Regions from separate parts of the Homo sapiens genome. Here all the other regions are linked to region 3. Evidence: promoter capture Hi-C in 16 types of primary human blood cells and fetal thymus (Javierre and others, 2016). All regions are on one chromosome and are shown on one strand. Each heading gives the region's core, a stretch centred on a gene start or on the middle of the fragment in contact. The rest is flanking DNA. Distances are from core to core; before and after follow the strand shown. Region 1 has its middle 5.7 kb from the start of TMEM192. Region 2 overlaps GALNT7 (polypeptide N-acetylgalactosaminyltransferase 7). Region 3 holds the start of CBR4 (carbonyl reductase 4). Region 4 has its middle 9.6 kb from the start of HMGB2. Region 5 holds the start of SAP30 (Sin3A associated protein 30).

What was found. The method cuts DNA at HindIII sites, captures the fragments that hold promoters and counts their contacts. A CHiCAGO score of 5 or more calls a contact.
Region 1: a contact is called between a fragment that was not itself captured here and the fragment with the promoter of CBR4 in region 3, in 2 of 17 cell types (naive CD8 T cells and total CD4 T cells). The highest score is 8.1, in naive CD8 T cells.
Region 2: a fragment that was not itself captured here is called in contact with the fragment with the promoter of CBR4 in region 3 in 2 of 17 cell types (non-activated CD4 T cells and activated CD4 T cells); the score reaches 9.9 in non-activated CD4 T cells.
Region 4: a fragment that was not itself captured here is called in contact with the fragment with the promoter of CBR4 in region 3 in 1 of 17 cell types (non-activated CD4 T cells); the score reaches 5.2 in non-activated CD4 T cells.
Region 5: a fragment that was not itself captured here is called in contact with the fragment with the promoter of CBR4 in region 3 in 1 of 17 cell types (total CD4 T cells); the score reaches 5.0 in total CD4 T cells.

What each region holds. Positions count from the first base shown.
Region 1 is chr4:165,117,227-165,119,926 of GRCh38, reverse strand. No RefSeq gene overlaps it. Among named protein-coding and RNA genes, the nearest start is that of TMEM192, 5.7 kb to the right of the region's middle. The HindIII fragment of the contact is 7,778 bases long and covers 1-2,700 here.
Region 2 is chr4:173,169,739-173,172,464 of GRCh38, reverse strand. The region is part of intron 1 of GALNT7 (polypeptide N-acetylgalactosaminyltransferase 7); the gene reads right to left. Among named protein-coding and RNA genes, the nearest start is that of GALNT7-DT, 1.4 kb to the right of the region's middle. RefSeq lists a silencer at 2,276-2,726. The HindIII fragment of the contact is 850 bases long and covers 1,014-1,863 here.
Region 3 is chr4:169,008,966-169,011,665 of GRCh38, reverse strand. CBR4 (carbonyl reductase 4) reads left to right here and starts at 1,411. Exons shown (of 5, transcript NM_032783.5): 1 at 1,411-1,718. The coding sequence starts at 1,577. CBR4-DT (CBR4 divergent transcript) reads right to left here and starts at 1,237. Exons shown (of 2, transcript NR_185919.1): 1 at 1,210-1,237; 2 at 606-882. RefSeq lists enhancers at 1,032-1,361, 1,461-2,410. The HindIII fragment of the contact is 6,180 bases long and covers 733-2,700 here.
Region 4 is chr4:173,342,637-173,345,336 of GRCh38, reverse strand. No RefSeq gene overlaps it. Among named protein-coding and RNA genes, the nearest start is that of HMGB2, 9.6 kb to the right of the region's middle. The HindIII fragment of the contact is 3,910 bases long and covers 1-2,700 here.
Region 5 is chr4:173,369,997-173,372,696 of GRCh38, reverse strand. SAP30 (Sin3A associated protein 30) reads right to left here and starts at 1,743. Exons shown (of 4, transcript NM_003864.4): 1 at 1,200-1,743. The coding sequence starts at 1,514. SAP30-DT (SAP30 divergent transcript) reads left to right here and starts at 1,999. Exons shown (of 4, transcript NR_183973.1): 1 at 1,999-2,405. RefSeq lists enhancers at 633-932, 636-1,199, 2,283-2,522 and silencers at 1,053-1,432, 1,713-1,882. The HindIII fragment of the contact is 6,906 bases long and covers 1-2,700 here.

The DNA.
Region 1 (2,700 bases), core at 120-2,619, 3.9 Mb after region 3:
GGTTAGGAGTTTGAGACCAGCCTAGCCAACATGGTGAAACCCGTCTCTACTAAAAATACAAAAATTAGCCAGGCGTGATGGTGCGCAGCTGTAATCCCAGCTACTCTGGAGGCTGAGGCAGGAGAATTGCTTGAATCCGGGAGGCAGAGGTTGCAGTGAGCCAAGATTGCACCACTGCACTCCAGCCTGGGTGACAGAGCGAAACTCTGTCTCAAAAAAAAAGAAAAAGAAAAAAATAAAGAAAAAGAAATGGGGAGTGATTCAGCTTTTTTTTCTTCCAAGTGGCTGGTGGGTTTTCTCAACATCATTATTAAATTATCCATCAGGTCGGGCGCGGTGGCTCACACCTGTAATCCCAGCTCTTTGGGAGACTGAGGCAGTCAGATCACCTGAGGTCAGGAGTTTGAGGTCAGCCTGGCCATCATGGTGAAACTCCATCTCTACTAAAAATACAAAAAAATTAGTTGGGCGTGGTGGCAGGTGCCCATATTCCCAGCGACTTGGAAGGATGAGGCAGGAGAACCGCTTGAACCTGGCAGGCGGAGGTTGCAGTGAGACGAGATCCTGCCATCGGACTCCAGCAACAGAGTGAGACTCCATCTCAAAATAAATAAATAAATAAATAATCCATCAACTGGGGATTACTTTTAAAAGAAATATAAAAGTCAAGTTGGAAAGGAACTAGGCCCCTTTGATTCCTAGAACGGTTGTACAAAGACTGAGACTCAGCAGAGTGAGCTTCCTGAAAGAGGGTAAAGCCTCATATAGTTTGGAACTGAATCAGAGCCAGATTAGGGAGCTACTGCTCAGCTCAGTGTGGAGAATCAAAATAATTATTTTATAAGTTATTTGGGGATACCTTCAAATATTCTTTTAGACCTCAACACACAGCATTATGAATTGTATTGTAAAAGAAAAGTTTTACTTCTTAACTGTCTAGAACTTAATTAAAAGAGATATCACTACAAAGCACTTAAAGCCCCATCTTCTGATTATTTCTGAAATAAGGAGTTCCTCCCATGAGAATGCTGCCGACTGCTTGGGCTGGATGCCTGAGCCTGGTACTTGGCATTAAAGAAGAATCAGGAGTGAGTGGAGATTAGACAAGGTCAGCTCTATAATCACTAAGTAGTAGCCTTGAGTTTCATGAAGGTTACAAAATTCATTTTCACCCTGAGTTTCGGTATGTGTTTTCTAAAACCTTTCAGAGAAATTGTGGTTTTGGTCTGAAACTTCACATATTTGGTGTCTATCCAAACATGAATTACTTTTGGGATTTTTAGCAAACTTTTTTTTCTGCTCCTGAGTCAGTGAAACAAACAAACAAACAAAATTCTGCCTTCAAAAATAAGTGTGCTTTTAAATGCCAGGATTTGAGATCATAAGAACTTTAGGAGAAAACAAACAATAATGAGAGGGCAAGTACTGGATATCAAGCCTGAAACTTTACAAGCCCTGAGACCTCTAACAGAGTCCATTATCACTCAAATGTGGAATGTTTGGTTACAACGGGACTCTATTTGTGGTACAGGTGCTTTGAAAGATACAAACATTTACGAAACAAATAAGTGGAAACTGGAATGTTTCCAATTGCTTACAATATCCTTAAATTTCTTTCTAGAAAAAAAAATTTTTCCAGAAAAAAGTACATAAACTAAATATAATTTGATATGCTAAAATAACTATTGACCTCCTTTTTTTGTCTGTTCATTGAAAGGGAATTTTTCAATGGCATCTCTCTAAGTACCTAAGAGAGATTTAGCTACAAAACATTATCCAAAGACAGAATTTTGGATATCTTCATTTCTGACAATGGTATAGGGCAGCCTAAGAGAATTGTAGAAATATTTAGCTAGGATCAACTTGTTCTAAAATTTTATTTAAAAGGCAAGTTAAGAAAAAAAAAATAAGTATGGGAGGTGGTAAATACATTAATTAGCTTGATTCAATCATTCTGCAATGTATCCATATACCAAAACATCATGTTGAACATCATAAATATATATAACTTTTATTTATTGATTAAAAATAAATTTAGGCTGAGCACAGTGGCTTATGCCTATAATCCCAGCACTTTGGGAGACCGAGGTGGGAGGACTGCTTGAGCCCAGGAGATCAAGACCAGCCTTGGCAACATAGTGAGACCCCATCTTTATTCAATAAATAAATAAATAAATCCATTTCAAAGGCAGATTAAAGTCAATATCAGTAAAGAGATCCTGCTTTAAAATTAACAAAAATATCAATTAAGTACCTATTGTTTGTATGCATGTTACGTTATGCCAGGCTGAATAATAGAAATCATAGTGAATAAAGGACAGATTTTGATGTTGAAAAAAAATCAATGAGATATTATTAACATTTTAATATCTGTGATCAGGAATGAGCACGGTGCCTGGAACAATGCTGATGGTGACAACACAGGAAAGATGGGGCTTCAGTCCAGCATCTTCTAATGGTGAACTGTTTGGTAGCATAGAGGTGGAAAGGTCATGGCTGACACTCCTATAACAAAAGCCAGATTAACAAGAGAAAAGCATAACAGATTTATTTATTTATTTATTTAAGAGGGAGTCTCGCTCTGTCACCCAGGCTGGAGTGCAGTGGCGCGATCTCGGCTCACTGCAACCTCTGCCTCCCGGGTTCAAGCAATTCTCCTGCCTCAGCCTCCTGAGTAGCTGGGATTACAGGTGATCTAAT
Region 2 (2,726 bases), core at 189-2,688, 4.2 Mb before region 3:
AGCAGGTTCCCACTAAGATCTCAGGAGTTGGGCAAGTGGGCTCCAGCATGTGCACTAATAGGCAAAATGGCAGCTTTTAACTAGTATATGCCCTTCCTCTAGGAAGGCTCAAATTGTAAGGGAAAAATGCCTCAAGTGAGCATGAGTAAAACTTCAGTAAACACACTGCAGGCAGCCCCTCCCCGCTGCTGGCAGGCCACTGCGCATGCAGACAGCCCACCCCAAGGGAAGAATCACGGGAGAAGAAACGCAAACCCTGGAATCATGCCAATGTATAAAACCCCAAGTCCAGGGTCAGACGAGGTACTTGGATTTCTCAAGTAGCCCACATGGCCTTCTTCAAAGTGTACTTCCTTCCGTTCCTGCTCTAAAGCTTTTTAATACTCTCACTCCTGCTCAAAAATTTGCCTCGGTCTCTCACTCTGCCTTATGCCCCTCCAATAAATTCTTTCCCACAGGAGGTAAGAATCGAGTTGCTTCAGACCTGTGTGGATTTGCTACTGCTAATAGTCATTTCTTCAAGTAAGGCTTTTATGACCAAATTCCTCCATTTTCTTGCCCCCTATGGTTTTCACTATGAAAGCAGTAGCACAATTTTTATTTATATATTTATCGAGGTTTGATTGCTGTGTGGTTTTTACAAGATCCATGAGATTAAGGACAAGGAGTATTTCCTTAACAACTAGTACCATGCCTGGTATATAATTGGCACTCAAAAATGTTCAAATAAATCAATATTTAAAATCACACAACAGAATATGATCGGAAATGTAAGGTCATTTTTCACATCATTCACTTCAGAGAAAGGGCAAGAGGCCCAGAGATGGGAAGGAAATAAGAAACATGTTTCTTTTGTCTTGACTCCACAGGTGGACAGACCTAAAACAAGGAAATAGTGCAGATGAGAAAGGACCATCCCAAGTTGTCAAGGCTGTAACAGAATTTAGTGTATGACATATTCATAGTTCAAGACAAAAAGTGGCACAGGGTGAATGGAGCCACAGGTACAAGCTTGCTGGAGTAGAGGCAGAACCCATACCTGGTAAACTGGATCGTTCAGGCTATTTAAAGGGATCCAAAAAAGTCCATGTGTAGATCAGCATTAAAGAGAAGCAGAGATCTCACCATGGGTGGAATATATGCAATAGTCATCGAAGTAAAAGAACCACAAGGGGGAGGAGAAACTCAGGAGTCAGAATCCTCCCTACAGGATTTGTCCTTCTAGCACTGTACCTTAAAAGCTCCTAGGTTAGTCTTTATTAAAGGAAGGCAATAATCCCTTATTTATGCTCTTATTATTTATAAGCTACACTTTAAATTGCTTGTATTACTATTTACCTGGGAAGCCAATAAAAGGGTCTTTCTTGCTCTTCTGATACCTAAGCATTCCTCTTAATGTTAATTATGTTAAGTCTTTAAAATCTACCTTTTGTTTTTGACAAATGACAGAAATTACACTGGATCCACTGAGAAACTTTATCAAGTACACTGAAACAAACAAAAAATCAAGATATCATCACCTTCTTTATCATCACCATATAGTACTGAAATGGGCATTATGGCCCATCCTTTGTTTGCACTAATAAAATATTCCACGAGTTGGCAAGTGATGCTGATGTTCCGCCACCTCTTTAAAAGATCATCAGAAGGGCGGGACATTCTGAACCTAGCTAGTTTTGTCAGTTTTTCGTCAGTTTCTCTACCAGAAAATAGGGGGTTAAACATTTCTAGCTACATGTAAAAAGCCATTTGATGACTTAAAACAAATATCCTCAATTGCAATATTCAGTTATCCTTTGTCAATAAGTCATATTGAGAGCAAAATTATAAAAAGATCACCATCACTCCATGAGCTGAGAAGCTTAAAACCGCAAATGTACTGAAAAGGAAAACTGATACTTTTTATTACCATCAATTTAGATGACTTAGATGGGAATCTATCCCAGATATTACAAAGGGATTCCACTGCTGTAGAGACTTCAAATACTAAAACTTCCAGATTACATCTAATCTCATGATATAGGCGAAGAGCTGATAATGGGATCTCCTCCTAGGATTCTTACTCTTGAAAGGACGCCACAAGCCTTTTTGCCCAACTTCTTGATGCTAACTTTCCAGAAGGAAAGTTAAATAAACATGACATAGAAGCGATGCTCATCACACTTGCAAAAAGCACTTTACAACAGAGAGAGCGACTCGACTCCTCCTGCAGCCCCGCCGCCTCGGCGGTCGTGAGCCCCTCATACCCTCTCCTACCCCCACTGGCAGCCGGCCCAGTTGGCTGTCCCAGCGGGGAGGAGGAAGCAGGTGGTGCAACGGTTCATCCGGGGGGAAGCAGGTCAGGGTCGGGGGCGAGGCCGGTGCGCGCCGCCCGCTGCCGGGTCAGGGAAGCCGCAGTGCCCGCGGTCCCTTCCCCGCGCGGCGCGGCTCCGGGTAACTAATGTTCCGAGGCGCCTGACTAAACCCTCCAAATCCAAGGAATGTCAGCGCTAACACTCGCGCCCTGGGCGGCAGACAAATGCGTCCCAGCGGAGCCGCCGCGAGCTCCGCGCCGCCGCTCCCCTCGGCGTCGGCCTGAGCTAGCCGGCAGCCGGCGCGGGGCGGCCGGGCGCCGACACAAGTTAGTTTTCCGGCCCAAGCAGCCCTGCCGCAGCCAAGGAAGAGGAACTGCTCCTCTTCCCCCGGATAGCGCCCGAGCACTGCCACAGCAGGGGCTTCCCCAGGCG
Region 3 (2,700 bases), core at 162-2,661:
GGGAGTTTTGCTCAGGCTTCTCTGCTGCATAACCAGGAGGCTGATTTCTTACAGAAATTACCACTTGTAATTATATTTCCTTTGTTGCTTTCGCTGGCAGGAAACTCTAAGTTTATGAATCTCTTCTTTAATACTAAATAGATTCTTATAGCATGACTTTATTCGTATTTTTTCCACTGACCTAATTTATTGTTCTGGCCTTGTGGGAGAAGGGGCAGTGGTCCTCTTTGCCTTTTAAATTCAAATACTCATGTATTTTTGCAAACCATTTCAAATCTTTTTTTGGATCTAAATGGAATAGGAATAACAAATTTAAATTAATGCTCAACTTGCTTATTTATAGACTTTTTGCTCTTGTTTTCCTTTTTTCAAACCTCATCCAGCCCTCAAATCCAGCTTTTCCATGCACCCCTTCATTCTTCACTGATCTCCATTTTCTCGGAGCTCTTGTGTTAATATAATTTTGCATTTTACTAAGTATGATTTTGGATACCTCCTAGTGTTTCATGTGTATTAGTCCTGTAGTTCTGGGTTGTAGTTTTTTTAGTGGTAGGGACCATGGCTCATACTTTTCTGAATCTAGTAAAATAATATTGTATCAGAAATGCTTTCTGTTTACACTATAATTGTAACAAACATTGAATTTTTTAGCTTATTAACTCTCAGAGCACCCAGTACATCTTATTTAGAATTGCAGGAACCCATTTTTGTTTCTCTACAGCAGCCGAAGCTTGTTTCATAGATCTTGCAAGACTATTCAATCATTCAGTTAAAATTCCTTGACCTCCTGCTGGATGATGTTCGACAGGGCATTCATCTTCACGACACCCTTCGCGATGAATGGTAACATCTGGGCGGGTAGAGGTCCATTTCTACAGCAACCTGGGGGAGGAACAGGTAGGGTAGGTTTTGGTGTGGGTGCGATTCTTGGGGACTTCTTCAACAGGTAGGACATCAAGTCTGTAGCCAAAACAACACCTGGGCGAAGGGCAAATACCGGAGCCCCGACCGGCTCACGCCCAGTAATGCTTTCTCTGGGTTCTAACTACGTGATCAGGTCGTCTTGGTTTGCCAGGGAAAGCCCAGCGTCTTGACAACCCTGTCAGTTCCGAACAAACCGGGTCGATTGGTCACCGGGGCTCGAATCCCGACTGATATGACCCAGCGGGGACAGAGGATCCCCCTCAGTGCCACAAGTACATTCCCCACCGAGCAGCGCGCCTGCGCCAGTTGCTCTCATGCGTCAAGACTACAGGTCCCAGCAAGCATCGAGGCCCTCTCCAGGCCATTCTTCCGCCGGCGGGGAGCTCTCGTCGGCGTATTTGTTAGGTGTGGCGCGGAAGAGTCCGTGCGTGATGACGTCGACGCGGCGACGTCGAGCTCTTCCTCCTTTTCACGGCGTCTTGCATTACTATTGTGCGGCTGCAGGAGGTGTCGAGCGGCGTTATTTTTTTTTGCGGTTTGCCTTTTTTTTTCTTTTTTTTTTTTTTGGAACCGCGGTTGTTTAAAAGCCTGAGGGAACCTGGAGAGGGGCTCCCACTCCCTACCCTCTTTCCTCCGAGTTTGTGACTCCGAGATGGACAAAGTGTGTGCTGTTTTTGGAGGCTCCCGAGGCATTGGCAGAGCTGTGGCCCAGTTAATGGCCCGGAAAGGCTACCGACTGGCGGTCATTGCCAGAAACCTGGAAGGGGCCAAAGCCGCCGCCGGTGACCTCGGCGGTAGGTACCAAACTGGAGTTGTCCAGTTGTATGGCCGCGGTCCAGGCGCCTAAAGAAAATCTCCTTTGTAAAAAGAGCGGGTCTGGCCTTTAGGGCTCTAGGGTTACTCGATGTAGCCGCGTGCAGGCGCTCTCCCGTTCCAAGGGTAGAATGCGTCTCGTGCAGAAACCCGCGATCTCCCTATGCCTCGCAGAATGCCGGCCACGCAGCTTGCCGCCGAGGGCTGAACACTTGGGGTGTTCTTTGAGACCTCGTAGTCTTTTGAGGCCCCGCTATACGCACCCTCCGCCCTGCGGCTAGTGCTAACGCTGAGGAGCTTCCCTGTTGTGGGAGAGAGCCACGTAACAGTTTACTTTTAATGTAGGGAAAAGGGCGAGTTCTCGGCCCCCGGAGACAGGGCTGGGTCGAAAGGAGTTCAGGCAGGAAAGGTGGGAGTGCAGGTACCAACGGCTCCCTTCAGTTTTGCCCAAGGGCCGTGCCTTGGCCCTGCGCGAATGCACAAAGCAGTGTTTGATAGAGAAACCCTTTTGAGTACCAGCCAGTTTTGAGATATACCTGGTTTGCTTTAATGTTATTAAATTGTTTTGGTGAGTTTTGCAAATGGACAATTGAACTTTGTTCTGCCAAATTCTTTTTTATTGCATTTAAACTTCAGGGTTTTTTATTTCCGGCTTATTATGAATGGATTAGTCATTTTGTGAATATAACTCTTCATTGAGTTTAGGGAGAAATAGGACGTTAGATCCGAAGATGCTATTTGTTTAATCACCAGAATGGACAAAATTATACTTCATTTACTATCAGGGAGGCATGGGGAGAATAGAGGCCTAGGGGTGCGTCTTGTGGCTCTTACTGTTTTTGTGTATCTGGTTTTTTTTTTTTTTTTTTGAGAGGGCTTCCCATTATGTTGCCCGTGCTGGACCCCAACTCCTGATTTACTGGCTCTAGAGATCTTCTCGCCTCAGTCTCCCAAGGACCTGGG
Region 4 (2,700 bases), core at 181-2,680, 4.3 Mb before region 3:
CAAGCGACTTTAACTTGTATCTGAAAGACTATCATCTCACTACAGCTTTCTTGGTGATAGAGCCCTCTTGAGCTTCTTTAGATATGTGTCAAAATGTCAAACTGAATATTGATGGAGCCAGCACAGGTAGAGAGCTGTAGGAAAAAACCGTGATCTTTCTTTAGTTAGAGGGGAATCCAAAATAGTTAAAATGTGAATGGCCAAATACTTACTGCTTATCTCAGTTTTCTGATGAGTTACTATAATGAAATAATCTAGTCCAGAAATAAATGACTTGTCTTGGGCTTGCTACGCAAAAGAAGAAAAAAATGCTATTAAAAAAGTTATTAGCCAATGGCTGCATATAATAGAATATCTATCTAACAGTATTATTATGAGTTTATTTTTCTGACATATAAGAAGACTGAGAGAAGATGGTTACTGGTAATGGTTCAGTAGTTCAATAATGTCCGGGTTGATGTCTACAATTTTCTTGCCTTTCTCTTATGCTACTGAGAATAGCTTTCTCATGATTGGTTTGAACCCGCAATAATTTATCATTACCTTTTTTATAATCAAGATATTTTTTAAAGTAAGAAGAAAGGAGAAAATGGGTTTTGGGTAATTAACAGAGTTCTGAACAACAACCTAGATTTAAGAATTTTAGACAAAGGTATAGAACAAGACCATGCTACTTTATAGTTTTCAAACATAAAGGTTTTTAGAAGTTAACAGTAATGAGTTATTGATATGAATTATAAGTTTAAAAACACCTATTAACCTAGAAAATATTTAATGAATATTTAATAATCATTACATTGAAAAATTCATCCAATAAATATTTGAGCCTATGCATATGCATAGCACTGTACTAGGCCTTAGGAGAGATGTAAAAACATGATATGCACCTCCTGCCTTCAAGAAACTCCTAAACAATAATTTTTGGTATTACATTTTATATTTTATAACACTCTCTCATAGGCGTTCTTTCTTTTGAAATTTATAACTCCATGCATTAGGCAGATAAAATTTTTACCTGATGAAGAAGTTGAGACAGACCCTGCTCTTGTCTCTCTGGCCATTACCACTTCAACATTGATTTCTTGACCTGAGGGCTTTCTCCAAAGCTGTGGAAGGCAGCTCTGTCCCTATGTGATCAGGGCAATTTGGAAATGCCTGGGAATTAACAAACTCCCACTCTAGCAGCCTTCACCAAGTGACTGGAAAGATTTGTTATATAGATACCCCAGCTCACTTGGCCTTCAGATGGGATAACTTTGAGGCCTGTGTTTTCCCAGAGTTTTCTCATGGGATTATGCTCCAGTCATTATAAGTGGTATCTGGCTTGATACCGCACCCTTTATTGACTGTTTTCCCTTCTTTGTCTCGCTTCCCCACCTCCTACTGGTGTTTCCTGCATCTCTTAGATAAACTATTTGCAACAAAATCCTTGTCTCAGGTTTCTATTGAGCATTTCCACTAGGTTATTTCCCCTAATACCTGCCCTGAAAGTGCCTGGCTTAATGAGGGGGGCACACGATTCAAATCAAGCCAGTTGGAATCCTTCACAGGGAAATTTTGTCCAGTCTGAAATACTGAGAAAGGAACTCTCTTCCTTCATCCTTGTTTCATTTTGGTTTTGCATCATTCTATTTCGAGTAGTGTCCGGCACAACGTAGAAACTTAATCTTTCTGGAATATTTAATGAATCCAATTCCTACAATTTCTTTCCTGCCAACTTGCATTCATCATCAGCCATTAATTTTAAAATGTATGAAATAATGTTGCTATAGCATATCATAGTGTCACTGCATACTGTAGTAGTTAAGTGCATGGACTCAGGAGCTAGACTGCTTGAGATATAAACTCTGCCACTTGCCAGTTGTTTGACTGTGCTGGTTATATTTCTGTTGTCTGTCAGTTCCATTCTCATTCTTTTACTCTCTCTATATTACAGAGTACTGGAATTCTAAATATCATTTCCCAGATTCACTTGCCAATTTCTTTCCGGTTCAGTTCTGTTAATGGGAGATTCAAGGCCAAGAGGATGGAAGGCATTTTTGCTTTTCTTCTGGCTCCGGCCTCTGCAATGCTGTGCTCTACTACCCTGACTCCAGGAGTGGCCCGAATAGGGTGAAGGATGCATAATCCTCAATTATGCGTAAGTGCATTTTTTCAGTCTAATTAGAATTCCAGGCTTTAAAATTAGATGTATATTTTGAAAAGTATATCTGAAAATTTCATAGTTTGTGAATATATTTTTAAATACAGTCAAAATACTAAGCACAGTAACAACACGATTTAGAGGACAAAGTTGTAAATATGCCACCTTTATATTTATAAGAGTATTTACACAAGAATTTGCAGTTTTAAGTCGTTATCAATCATTGAGTTGATATAAGGTCAATATAGTATTAATATATCACCTACACAAAAGCAGATAAAAAGTTATTTTCAGCAGGGCATGATGGCTCACACTCGTAATCCTAGCACTTTGGGAGGCCAAGGCAGGTGAATCACTTGAGGTCAGCCTGGCCAACATGGTGAAACCCCACTTTACCAAAAATACAAAAATCAGCCGGGCATTGTGGCGCATGCCTGTAATCCCAGCTGCTTGGGAGGCTGAGGAAGGAGAATCACTTGAACCTGGGAGGCGGAGGCTGCAGTGAGCTGAGATTGTGCCACTGCACTCCAGCCTGGGCAACAAAGTGAGAGTCAGTC
Region 5 (2,700 bases), core at 201-2,700, 4.4 Mb before region 3:
GACAGTACTTTCTCTACTTAAAAGAACAGCATATTTTAGTAATATAATGTATGCTTTCCAGTCTTTCTAACTGAATACCCAAATTATAGTCCAGATACAAAACCATTCGTTTTCACAAATGAGCCATCGACTTCAAAACTATATTTAAATTTCAGTTATACATTTTTCTGAATATTAAATCAATGTATTTATCTATAACACATTTTTCCAAAACAATCTGAAATTATGCAAGTTCACCTGAAGAGTTTCTCATGGATAACACTGAAAACTGTTTAAACGGGCAAAAAGTGTCACAAATAAACTTTTCAAAAACTTTAATTACATATACTCCTGCGAGCTGTAGACTAGCATTTGAAACAAACACGGACTGAGCTAACAGGCTTTTACATTTACTTCTAAGCCAAGCGCAAGATAAAAATATGCAGGACTTGTGGTAGGTTCTCGATACCATGTTATTCATTTACCGCTAGCCAGATCTCCCAAAAGTAGCAACGGCTGTTTCTAAAAACCTCATAGATGGTCAAACGAAAAGACGTGCAAAAAATCCTGATGGCTGCCAAGGGGATGGCAAAACCGCAGAGGCTACGTGCTCCCCACCATCGGAGTAGCTGCCCTCGGAGCTGACAGCGCAAACGCCGTTTACAACCCCGGCTCACTGCCAGGCGGCGGGTGAGCTCGGCTTCCCTCTCACTCCGCTCCGGAGGAGACGGAACACAGAAAAGAACAGGATCTTCCTTGTTCGTGAAGGTCCTCCGCTTTCTCCTAGACGACGGGATTTAGTACCGCCTGGGGCCAAACACCAGCTTGGGCAGCAAAACAAAGGCGCCTCCATTCCAGAAGAGCTGCCGGGCTGCAAGAAAACTACTCTGGGCCCTCAGTGCGCCGGTCCCCTTTGTTTCGTGTCCCGGTCGCAGAGGAGAAGGAAGAGGGAAGACTGCGCGGGAGAGACGCAGGCAGCGGGAGGTTGGGGGCCAGGGTGGGAAAGAAGAGGGGAACGACAGCCTGTGTGTGGTGTGTGTGTTGGGGTGGCGGTAGGAGTTGCAGCGACTTTGTTATTTGCTTCCAAACACAGACTCCACGAGACCGCACTGCAGCCAGTGCGGTTGTCTGGGGGACCCCGCCGACAACCCGTGCCTTTGCCCGGCTCCTGGGGCCCCACCGAGGGGCGGGAGGGCAGGGCGGTCCCGCGGTTTACTTACGCTCTTATCCAGCTCGATCTTCACCTTCTTCTGGGAGATGCTCTTCTGGATCCTCTTGCTGAAGCTGGCGTTGCCTGCCGCCCGGCCGCACCGCTCACCATCCTCCCGCAGGCAGCACAGTTGCCCGGGGCCCGGCCCGGCCGCCCCCGGGGGCCCAGCCGCTGAGACCGCCCCCGCGCCCGGCACCTCAGCCCCGGTGCCCGCGCCGGTCCCGTTCCCCGCCGAGGCGGCGGCGGCCGCGGCAGCGACCACTGCGGCCACTGCGGCGGCCGCATCCCCGCCGCGGCTCATCTCGTCAGGCGTGAAGCCGTTCATGTCTCCGAGCTCCCGAGGCCGGCGCTGACAGAAATCCCCTCTCTCCTGGCCGCTCCGCCTCTCTCCGCTCCGGCAGCGGCAATTCACTCTGCACACCAAGTTAGACAGCGGCACGGCCAAACACCAACTGTCCCGGGCCTGCTGGTCTCTGCTGGCACCGAAACAGTGGACAGTGCTGAGGGCCGGGACGCAGACTCGAGCGTCTCCTGGAGCGGGGACCCCGCTCACTGTCACATGGGGACTTCAGCAGTTGGACCGCTACGCCTCCGCCTCCCTCCGGCCCCGGGACCTGCGCAAGCGCGACGCGCCCCCTCCCGTCCCGCCCCTTTCTTTCTGCCGCGCGGCCCCATGGGAATTGTAGTTCTCTGCTGCAGAGTCAACCTGAGCTCCGCCCTGACCCCGCGCCATGAGGGACGGAGGAACTACTAATCCTAGCATGCATAGCGCGGCCACGGACCCACTTTTTTTTTTTTTTTTTTTTTTCAGTACCGGGAAAACAGGAGCGTGTGATTGGGGTTTACAGTGTTTTCTCTCGCTCTCTCTGTTTCTAGGGAATTCGGGCTGTGTTTAGCTGCTGGAATATCGTAGAATTGGTTTTCAGAGAAGTTCCTCGACTCCTGAGGCGAAACATAAAGGGATGGGAGTGGTGTGGGAAGTGATCGTGTGGGGAAAAAAAAGTTTCGAGCCCGTTTCGCATTTGTGGAGACAGAGTTTTTGGTGTGACCACTCTTTTGTGGGAAACCCAAACCAAGGAGAACTCAGGAGAATTGGCGCTCTTCGGTCCTGGAGGTTCCGCAGCTAACATCCCGGCTTGACCAACTATCGAGGCCGCAAATTAATAGGGCACCTCCTGGGAGGAAAACGCCCATCCTGACTTCTCAACTGTGACAGGTCCCCCTCACAAACGCCTTGCGGGGGGGTGGGGGGGCGTTTCTAAACACTTGCATGTTCTTACAAGGGAAATGTTTTTATTCTTGGGCGCACCAAGTTGGCCGCCTCCTGAGGTGGAGTACGGACCAGTTGACAACAGGGCTCCTTTTCACCTCCACGCCCAACCTTTTCCATTTCTCCTCAAACGGTTTTGGAGAAGGGCGGAGTCATATCATTTTAAAGGAAACTTGGAACCTCACCAATACAAACGCTGGTCGAATGTTCCCAGAAACTTCCCTGCATTAGCTCTACCGGG